Regions from separate parts of the Homo sapiens genome. Here region 1 is linked to region 2. Evidence: promoter capture Hi-C in human tissues and cell types (Jung and others, 2019). All regions are on one chromosome and are shown on one strand. The core of a region is centred on a gene start or on the middle of the fragment in contact, and the rest is flanking DNA. Distances in the headings are between cores, read along the strand shown. Region 1 overlaps UBE2F (ubiquitin conjugating enzyme E2 F (putative)). Region 2 holds the start of UBE2F-SCLY (UBE2F-SCLY readthrough (NMD candidate)).

What was found. Contacts are between HindIII fragments. The study calls those that stand out against the background at their distance.
Region 1: a contact is called between a fragment that was not itself captured here and the fragment with the promoter of UBE2F-SCLY in region 2, in 4 of the 25 tissues and cell types used here (H1 embryonic stem cells, IMR-90 fibroblasts, hippocampus and 1 more).

What each region holds. Positions count from the first base shown.
Region 1 is chr2:238,006,233-238,011,385 of GRCh38, forward strand. The region is part of intron 4 of UBE2F (ubiquitin conjugating enzyme E2 F (putative)); the gene reads left to right. All of the region lies in intron 4 of UBE2F-SCLY (UBE2F-SCLY readthrough (NMD candidate)), which reads left to right. Among named protein-coding and RNA genes, the nearest start is that of UBE2F, 42 kb to the left of the region's middle. The HindIII fragment of the contact is 3,461 bases long and covers 1,210-4,670 here.
Region 2 is chr2:237,965,021-237,970,120 of GRCh38, forward strand. It overlaps UBE2F-SCLY (UBE2F-SCLY readthrough (NMD candidate)), which reads left to right and starts at 1,925. Exons shown (of 19, transcript NR_037904.1): 1 at 1,925-2,112. UBE2F (ubiquitin conjugating enzyme E2 F (putative)) reads left to right here and starts at 1,994. Exons shown (of 10, transcript NM_080678.3): 1 at 1,994-2,112. RefSeq lists a cis regulatory region at 1-521 and a silencer at 2,038-2,217. The HindIII fragment of the contact is 7,997 bases long and covers 1-4,700 here.

The DNA of each region.
Region 1 (5,153 bases), core at 1,690-4,189, 42 kb after region 2:
AACAACCAACTCTTGCATGAACTAACAGTAAAAACTCACTAATTACCATGGCACTAAGCCATTCATAAGGGATCTTCTCCATCACCCAGACACCTCCCACCAGACCCCACCTCAAACAAACAATGGGCATCACATTTCAACATGAGATTTGGAGGGGACACACGTCCAAACCATATCAATTGTCATCTTAATTATCACATCTTCTAATCCATGAACATGGTTTATATCTCCATTTCAGTTTTCTGTTGCTAGTACATAAAAATACAGCTGATTTTTGTATAGTGACCTTGTGTCCTACAACCTTGATAAACCTGCTTTTCATTGTAGTAGTTGTATTGTGGATTCTGTAGACTTTCCTATGTAAACTATCATGCCATCTATGCATAAAGACAATTTTATCTCTCCCTTTCAGTCTGTATCCTTCTGTTTCCTCTTCTTGCTTTACTTTGTTGTCTAAGACTTCCAGTACAGTCATATATAGAAGTGGTAGGAGGGACATCCTTGGCTTGTTCCTTTTTTCTTTTTTCTTTTTTTTTTTTTTTTTGAGAGTTTCCTTCTTGTTTCCCAGGCTGGAGTACAATGGCATGATCTCAGCTCACCACAACCTCCACCTCCCAGGTTCAAGCAATTCTCTTGCCTCAGCCTCCCAAGTAGCTGGGATTATAGGCATGCACCACCACACCCGGCTAATTTTTGTATTTTTAGTAGAGATGAGGTTTCACCATGTTGGTCAGGCTGGTCTCGAACTCCCAACCTCAGGTGATCCGCCTGCCTCTGCCTCCCAAAGTGCTGGGATTACAGGCGTGAGCCACTGCACCCAGCTGGCTTGTTTCTAATCTTAGGGGGTTGCTGTCAGTCTTTCATCATTACGTGTATGGTTTGCTGTAGGGTTTTTGTCTGTTTTTTCGAGACAGAGTCTTGCTCTATCGCCAAGGCTGGAGTGCAGTGGTGTGATCTCAGCTCACTGCATTCTCTGCCTCCCGGGTTCAGGCGATTCATGTGCCTCAGCTTCCTAATTAGCTGGGACTACAGGTGCCCACCACCATGCCCAGCTAATTTTTATATTTTTAGTAGATATGGCATTTCACCATATTGGCCAGGCTGGTCTCGAACTCCTGACCTCAGGTAATCTGCCCACCTTGGTCTCCCAAAGTGCTGGGATTACAGGCGTGAGCCACTGAGTCCGGCCTTGCTATAGGGTTTTTGCAGATGCCCTTTATCAGGTTGAGAAGTTCTTTTCTACTTCTTGTTTGCATATATACATATATATGTATATGTATGTATGTATTTTTTTTTTAATCATGAATGGATGCTTTTTTCCTCCCAAACCAAAAATGGCCAATAATGAATGGATGCTTAATTTGCCAAATGCTTTTTCTGCATCTACTGAGGTGATCATAATGGTTTTTCTGTTTTGGTCTGTTGATAAGGTAAATTACATTAATAGATTATTTTTCAAATGTTGAACCAAAGCTGCATTTGTGAGATAAACCATAATTCATCATGTATTATGTGTTAATGGTTTCATATATTGCTCAGTTTGATATATTAGTATTTTGTTAAGAATTTTTACAAATCCTTACCTGTCTGTGAGGGATATTTGTAGTTTTTTTTGTAATGAGTTGCCTAATTTTGGTGTCAAGGTAATGCATTCTGGTCTTTGAATGCATTTGGGGAGTGTCCTATTCTCTGGAAGAGTTTGTGTAAAATTAGTATTAATTAGTTAATTGATTTTTTTTTAGACAAGGTCTTACTCTCTTGCCCAGGCTGAAGCACAGTGGCACGATCACGCCTCACTGCAGCCTCAACATCCTGGGCTCAAGCAGTCCTCCCGCCTCAGGCTCCCAGGTAACTGGGACTACAGATGCCCATCGTCTGTAGTGGGCAGATGCACTACCATGTCCAGCTAATTATTTTTTGTAGAGACGGGGGTCTCACTATGTTGCCCAGGCTGGTCTCGAACCCTTGGGCTCAAGTGATCCTCCCAAAGTGCTGAGATTACAGGTGTGAGCCACTGTGCCTGGCCTATTAATTCTTTATTCAGTGGTAGAATTCACCTGTGAAGCCACCTGTCTCTGGAATTTTGTTTTGTTGTGGTAAGATTTTAAGTATAAACACAATTTCTAATAGATATAGGGCTGCCTAGGTTATTCTTGAGTGGGCTTCACTAATTTGTGTCCTTCAAGGGATTTGCTCATATCATCTGCATTTTTCAATTTATTGATATAATGTTCTTAGTATCATCTTATCCTATCCTTTTAAGTTCTGTAGAGTTTGTGTTGTATCTCCTCTTTAATTACTGATGTTGTAATTTTTGTCTTTTTCTCTTGATCAGGTTAATGAGAAGATTGTCAATTTTTTGACCTTTGCAAAGAACCTACTTTTAGGTTCATTGATTTTGCCCTGTTGTTTTTTGAATTTTGTTCATGTCTTTGTTATTTCCCTCCTCTTTATTTCCAGTTTAATTTGCTCTTCTTTTTCTGATGTTTAAGATGGAAGCTTAGACAAACAGTAGTATGTTTCCATTTCCCAGCTCAACCTTTATATTATAGTTCTCATTTGTTTTACTTTTACATATGTTGTAACCCAGAATATATTATCTGTGCTTTACAGTCTGTTTTTAAAATATATGTCTCCACATACTTAACATTTATGACCCTCATTCCCTTTTGTAGATCTAGATTTCTCCTCTCTGTTATTTTCCTTCTGCCTAAAGAACATCCTTGAAGATTTTTTTGTAGTGCAGATTTGCTTGTGATGAATTCTGTCAAGTGTTGCTGAAGTTTGAATTCTTAAGTTGACAGTTTCAGCATTTTAAGGATATCATTCTACTGCCTTCTGTATTTTTTCCTTACAAGTTAGTGGTGATTCTTTGTTCCACTTTATGCGATGTGCATTTTATTCTCTGGCTGCTTTTAAGATTTTCTCCTTATCACTGCTTTCAGCAGTTTGATTATAATGTGCTTTGAAGTGGTTTTTTCTTTTTATCACACTTGGGGTTTATTAAGCTTTTTGGATCTGTGAGTTATAGTTTTCATCCAATTTAGAAATAATTTGGCCAACATTTCTTTAAATATTTTTCTGTGATCGTTTTCTGGCACTCTAGTTTATATATCTATATCATATATGTCTTACATATAGATTACTTCTACGTGTAAATTATACCTCCATTGGGTCGCAGGTCTTCGTTCACTTTTCTTTCTGTGCCTCATTTTGGACAGTTTGTTTTTCTGCAATGTCTCATTTGCTGTTAAGCGCATCCAGTGAATTTTTCATTTCAGATACTGTATTTTCTAGCTGTTGACGTTCCATTTGGTGCTTTCCCCGTAACCGTCCATTTCTTTCCTCATTATGTTCATGTTTTCCTCTAAGTCTCAGCATCTCTATACAATAGCTGTCATTGTGCCTTTGTCTGCAGCCCTGCATCCCAGAGTCCTGGCCACTCCCTGGTGCCCATGTCTGTGCTGCCTCCTGCCTCCGCTCACACTCACTTCCTCTTCTCCACCATCTGTCTCTGTCTCTTCTCTTTCAACAGTCTGATCTGAGATGGATCAGAGCCTTTTAAGTTTAAAGTTTGCATAGGATGTCACTTCCAGGGTGCTGTAAATATTGACATTTAAAAATGAAAGTCTTATATTACTCTTTGAAATGTTTCCAGTGTAGAATATAAATACCACAGATATGCCCACCACCACAGATACTCCCATCATCACAGTTTTTTGTTTTTTTGTTTTTTTGTTTATTTTGATGTGAATAAGCTCTACTTCACTGGCTGGAAAACCTTTGCTAGTTTTTCTCCTGGCACTCATGTTTTCATTCCACTTGTTCCCTTGAATTGCACCCTAATGTAAACATTTTTATGCTTTTAAGTATTTTATTTGTCATTTTTTTATACTCTTCTGTAACTAGATATACAGGTAGATAGATAGATTGAGCTTTATTTATTTGGTTTTTTTTTCGATACAGAGTCTTGCTTTATTGCCCAGGCTGGAGTGCAGTGGCACAATCTTGGCTCACTGCAACCTCTGCCTCCCGGGTTCAAGTAGTTCTTCTGCCTCAGCCTCCCAAGTAGCTGGGAATACAAGTACCCGCCACTATGCCCGACTGATTTTTGTATTCTTAGTATAGACGGGTTTCACCATGTTGGCCAGGCTGGTCTCGAACTCTTGACCTTGTGATCCGCCTGCCTTGGCCTCCCAAAGTGCTGGGATTACAGGCGTGAGCCACCGTGCCCGGCCCAGAGCTCACTATTTGAAAAGTTCCTATAACTGTAAGACTCTTAGGTGTTAAACATTTGCTTTTGAACGATTGTTGCAGTTGTTATTTGTACAGGCTCCTGCTTCTGGTTTTTCCTCCTTTGTCTCTGGCTGCCTGTCCTCTGCCTCATCTTCCAGCCCCTCAAAGTGGGGGAACCTCAAGGCTTCACCCTGTCTTTGGACCTGTATAGTCAGTTCCCTGGTGTCCTGGCTATCTTGTGACATCAGAATGCTTTACCCTGAATGGCTCCCAAACTGCCCTCTCTATCCAACCTCTCCCAGTACTCAAGAATGATCTGTCAGCTGCCCACTCAACACCTCCACTGGGATGCCAACTTGAAATCTCAAGTTAATGTGTCTGATTTGAACTTCACACAGTTGTGCCATCTGCAGTCCTTTTATCTTCATGGTAGCAACTCTGCCATTTCCATTGCAAGGTCAAAGATCTTCTTTGACTCCTTCTCTCCTCCCTCCGTGCCTAATCTGTCAGCAAATTCTGGTGTTGCTGCCTTCAAAATCTGTCTACTTCACCTGCTCCCACCCTGATCCTAACCATTACCATCTCTCACCTGGATGATTACAACAGATAACCACAACTGGGCTCCTGCTCTGCGATCCATTTATATGCTCCTGTGCCTCCCCTACTCAGACCCCTTTCATGGCCGCATCTCACTCTGAATCAGAGCCAGCTACATGCAGGGGCCTGCAGGGCCCAACACCCTTTGCATCTGCTCCCTCTTTGGGCTCAGGTCCTCTTCCTCCACCTCACTCTCTGACCACATTGGCTTCTGCAGGGTTCACGGAACATACTAGGCCTCTTACCGTACCCACCCTGTTTCATCTGCCTGGAGTGTCCTTCACCCCAGTACCCTCCTCCTTCAATTCATCATTTTCTCT
Region 2 (5,100 bases), core at 675-3,174:
CATCCACAGCGGTGGAATTTGGGCCTACGTGGGCCAATGTGTGGTGCAATCCATTCTGCAGACAGTGACGCTTATGAGTAAGACAAGTGCTCACGCCATTCCGGCTGCACCTTCACACACTGCAATCTTCAAGCCCTTATCTCCTCTCACCAGGACTCATGCCGCCAGCGCATGCAATCTCTATCCAGCAGATGTGTTTTAATCACCTGCATGTTCCAGGATGGGAAAGGGGGTGGCAGGAGGTGACGCTGGAGGAAGAAGGAAGAGGAGGGCTGAGGAGCTGAGCTTAGTCAGGGAAACAGGCCATGACAATAAGGAAGAGGGAAGTGCAGGGCTCCAAGGAAGACACAGAGGGCACCTGCACTGCCCCACCCCACCCCCAGGCTTTGAGGCCTATCAGAAGTTGGTGTCTTAGCTTAGGAAAACTTGAGAGTTAGCCGGGCAAAAAAGGGAGAGACATGGTCCCAAACACAAGAAATAACACAAGTTGTGTTCTTTCTTTTTTCTTTTTTTTCTGGAAACAGTCTTGCTGTGTCACCCAGACTGGAGTGCAGTGTCAGCTCACTGCAACCTCCGCCTCCTGGGTTCAAGCAATTCTCCTGCCTCAGCGTTCCAAATAGCTGGGATTACAAGGGCGCACCACCACGCCCGGCTTTTTTGTATTTTTAGTAGAGATGGGGTTTTGCCATGTTGGCCAGGCTGGTCTTGAACTCCTGACCTCAGGTGATCTGTCTGCCTCGGCCTCCCAAAGTGCTGGGATTACAGGCCTGAGCCACTGCGCCCGGCTGAGTTGTGTTCTTGACCAGTTTTCCTGACTCCATTCCCACCGACTCACTTAGAGCCAAAGCCTTTATTATTATTATGGGGACAGGGTCTGCCCTGTCACCCAAGCTGGAGTGCAGTGGTGCGATCACGGCTCACTGCAGCCTCAACCTCCTGGGCTCAGGTGATCCTCCCATCCCAGCCTCCTGAGTAGCTGGGACTACAGGCGCGCGCCACCACGCGGCTAATTTTTTTTTTCTTTTTTTGTAGCGATGGGGTCTTGCCACCATCAGGAGGCTGGTCTTAAACTCTTGGGCTCATGGGATCCTCCCACTTTGGCCTCCCAAAGTGCTAGGATTACAGGCGTGAGCCACCGGGCCCGCCAGCCTCCTTTAGGAAGAAAACCTGATAGTCACTCCACTGTTAGAAACCTCTCAGTGGGGTTTTTCGAAATGAAAGTCTAACTCCTTGTCTCTTTCTGACCGTTTCCATGCTGAACCTCATCTTTCTAATGGCCCACTCCTCCAGGGGCCTGCCTGACGCCCAGGACGGCCCCTCGTCAATCACACAGGACGCTAATGGGCGCGGGATGAATCTGGGCGCCCAAAAGAGGACAAGTTGAAATGGATTTTTAAGGTACTTTAAACACATTTAAGAGAGAAAAGAAGGAATAAAAGGGACATGACAAGAACAGTGGGGCCTGTGGGCGCAGCACACGGTTTGGGGTTGGTCGTGGCTTGCGTGTCTGACCGCCCGGTCTCCCTCACCGCCTGCACTGCAGGCTGCGGGGGCCTGTCCAGTCCTTTGCACTCCAGGTGCGGCGCTGGACAGCGGGAGCTCCAGCCACGGAGGCCGCTCCTTCAGGGAAGGATAGCCCGGGCTCCTCCGTGCCCCTAAACCCTGCAGACCACGAAGTGAACCCGTGTTGGAACCAGGTGCAAAACCCCCAGCCCTCCGGCGCTCGGGCTCCAGAGCCAACTCGGAATCCCCGCCCCTAACGCTACTCGCCAATCAGCGGCGGTTGCGAAATCCGTGCCCGCCCCCTGGCCGCGCCCTCTGCCAATGAGCGAGGTCCGAGAGGCCCGTCGCCCAGCCCAGTCCCGATCGGCGCACGCCGCTGTTCGCGTGTCTGGTTCCAAATAAAGTTTTTCGCGACTTTGAATTTTTTTTTTAAAGCGCCCGCTGCTGTCTCGGCTGCCGCGGGCGAGAGCGGCCGAGTCCCCGCCCCGCCACTTCCGGTCCCGCCGCCGGGAGCCGGTGCGGCTGTGAGGGGCCGCGTCTCGCAGCAGCCGCCCGGACCGGGCATGGTGTTGGGCGCCGGGCCCGCCTCGCCTGTCTCGGGGAGCCCAGGTGAGGAGCGACCGTGCGGCTCTGCGGCGGGGCGAGGTGCGGCCGCCGGTGCACGGGCTGGCCTGCGGGCCGGGCGGAGGGCGCGGGCGGTGGCGGGGCCGCCTCGGGCCCGCCGGGTTCCTCACGCCGGGGGCCTGGCGGGCGCGGGCACCCGGACGCGAGGCCGAGCGGCGTGAATGGGAAGGGGCCGCGGGCCGCGGGCCGCGAGCCGGGGGTCGGAGGCGGCGTCGGCGGCCGGGGCGCTGGCCTCGCCCGGCAGTGAGTGACCGCGGCGGCGGCGGCGGGGGACGGCCCGCGCCGAGCACCTGGTGTGAACCAGGCCCTGGGCCGAGCGTGGCACAGACCTGGCCGCGCTCACGCCCCACTCGCGGGATCGGCTGCCTGCCTTGTACGGAGGAAGCGGGGCGTCCAGCGCCTGGCCAAGGTCACCGGCCCGACGTGGCCGCAGAAACCGGGACTGGACTCCCGATCGGGGCAGGAGTCGCGCTAGGCCGTGAGGAGCGGGGGAGGTGAGGGGAGTGACAACTCGCGCCCGGTCCTCGTACCTGCAGCGGGAAGAGTAAGTATGGACGCTTACCTACAACTGGGGGCGGCCAGGCTAGTTTGGAAAATTTTTACCACAGCAAAGGAGACGAGGAAGGAAGGGCATCTTGGAACAATTAGTGCAGCAGAGTCTTGGTTCCAGACCTAGTTCTGCTGGTGTGTCATCTTGGGTGTGGCCTTCCCCTCCCTGGGCTCAGTTTCCTCATCTGTCACAGGAGAGAATTGGGTCCCCCCACTCTGCATTCCCGACCGCCTGGAAGTGGGGGCAGGATGGGTTGGAATAGCCAGAGAAAGCTTCTTGGAGGAGGAGATGTTGGGATGTAGGTAGGAATCTTCCCCTTAAGGAAGGGGTAGGATTCGTTTGTGAAGGGAAGGAGGGCATTCTAGACCTGGGTATCAGACTGAATAGAAGCTTCTGGAAATGAACAGGGTGTTGTGAAGGAACAAAGAGGAAACTGGCCTGCCTGGTGCAGAGGAATCCTGGCTGAGGAGTGAGATGAAGGCAAGGGGGAGCATAGAGGTGGGAGAGAGAGAGAGATTGAGAGACAGAATCACACCAAGCTTAGTGCTGTGGGGCTTGAGGACCCCCCACCTGGACATACCTGCCTTTCAGGTAGTAGGCAGTGCAGGAAGGGGCAGGTTTACTGCTGAACGTAAAAGGGGCTGGGCTCCAAAGATGGTCGGTCAACCAGCGTACTCCTGTGCCGAGCAGGAGGTTCCTGGGCACTGGCATTCTGTAGAAGAGTGGGATGTGGACTTTGTTGTGCCCTGATCGGGGCCCCTTTGGCTGGGGAAGTTGAGTGTCCCCTAGTGACCCGCAGTCCCATCCTTTATGCTTGGATTGAGACGTCTCCATTCGGAAGGAATTGTAAATAAGTAGCCCCCTCACCTTGAGCTGACTGGCCCCTGGTGTCCCTGCACAAGTGACATGGCCTGGTTTTGCCATTGCTTGCAGGGATGCTGAGTAAATATCACTTGATGGCACTAGTAAGTTGCACACCAGATGCTCTTCTCCGGGCTGTCTGAAAGCAGGTCCCACCCAGAGGAGGAACCTAACTGGGCCAATTACAACTTGTGGAATTTAGAAACTGAGAATGCTGTTCAGAACAGCTGATCTGTTACCGAAATGCTGCCTTAGAGCGTAATTTGCAGGAAAGAGGAAGTTTTGTTTTAAACCAGATCTTCAAGAGTTGAAGCATATTGAAGAAGGAAAAGAATTCTGAAGCAACTGCAGGTATTCAGCTAGCCTCTTGACAGTTTGAAGACTTACTTTTTGATAGAATCCTTTGGTTTAAATTTAATTTTACAGCTATGGCAACATTCCCAAATTAGGCCTTGGGTTTATTCTTAAAGTGGCGTGTGAAAATGATACACACGATAGAAAAATAGATGGTCACTATATTAGATTTCTTAGAATGTTAGAGAAGTACATTTTTTATTACTTTCTATGGAAAACAAAGCACCAGTGTTACATTCTTTTATATCTTGCAAGTCACAGACTTGAAGATAGTAAACCAGCAATCTGACTCTTCAGTGGAATTGAATGTTGGAGCGTCTTCTGCCCACAGAGAAGACTTCATCGTGGCGTGATTGGGGGTATAAAAGCGTTAAGCGTAGCCTGCGGGCTGTAGTGGTGCAGAAGAGTTTCTTGGTGGTTGGCCTTTGAGTGCATGAAGGATCTCTCTCCCCAGGCTTCCCTGAGCCTCCTTCAGGGAGCTGCATGTGGCCCTGGTGCTTGCTGTTCTGTGGGACTCTTCATTCTGACTTTCCTAGGTTACTGCCTGCTGAACTCATGTTCAAGCAGTTGTGCTTTTATTTTTCACTCTTTGCTTCATTTGCATTCCCAAGGTCAGCCAGAGACCTGGTAGTCCTTGTGTAGGGCATCTGGTGCGTCCAGCTGACCCCCAGGTGATGGATGGATGCACGTCTTGGTCCATTATTGGGTGACTCTGACGATGTGGCAGGACTGATGTGCTCGAGTCTGCACACGGGGCAGCAGACTTGGCTGGGAAGGGAGACACTGTTCCATGACAAGGAATCCTTGTGAGGGATTTTTGACAAGATCATTCCAGGTAGGGGCTGAAGCAGGAGAGCTTGGCTCTAGATGGTGCTGCTGTCTGTGGTAGCTAAAGCCCCTACAGGTGTTTGTGACTATTTGCCTGTGAAGTAACTTCATCAGCTGAACCCAGCTGCTTTGCTCTGGGCGAAGCTGTGAAGATGTGCTCTTATGGAGGGCCACCTGAGGAGATGGCACAGTAGCGTAACAATGAAGAAACTAATGTTGGTTTATTTTCACATTTTTGTCAACTTTATTGAGGCGTAATTGAAATACACTAAATTGCCCATATTTAAATTGTGTAATTGATCAGTCTGAAACCATGACCACACTCGAGATAAAAACATTTCCTGCCCGGCATGGTGGCTCACGTCTGTAGTCCCAGCACT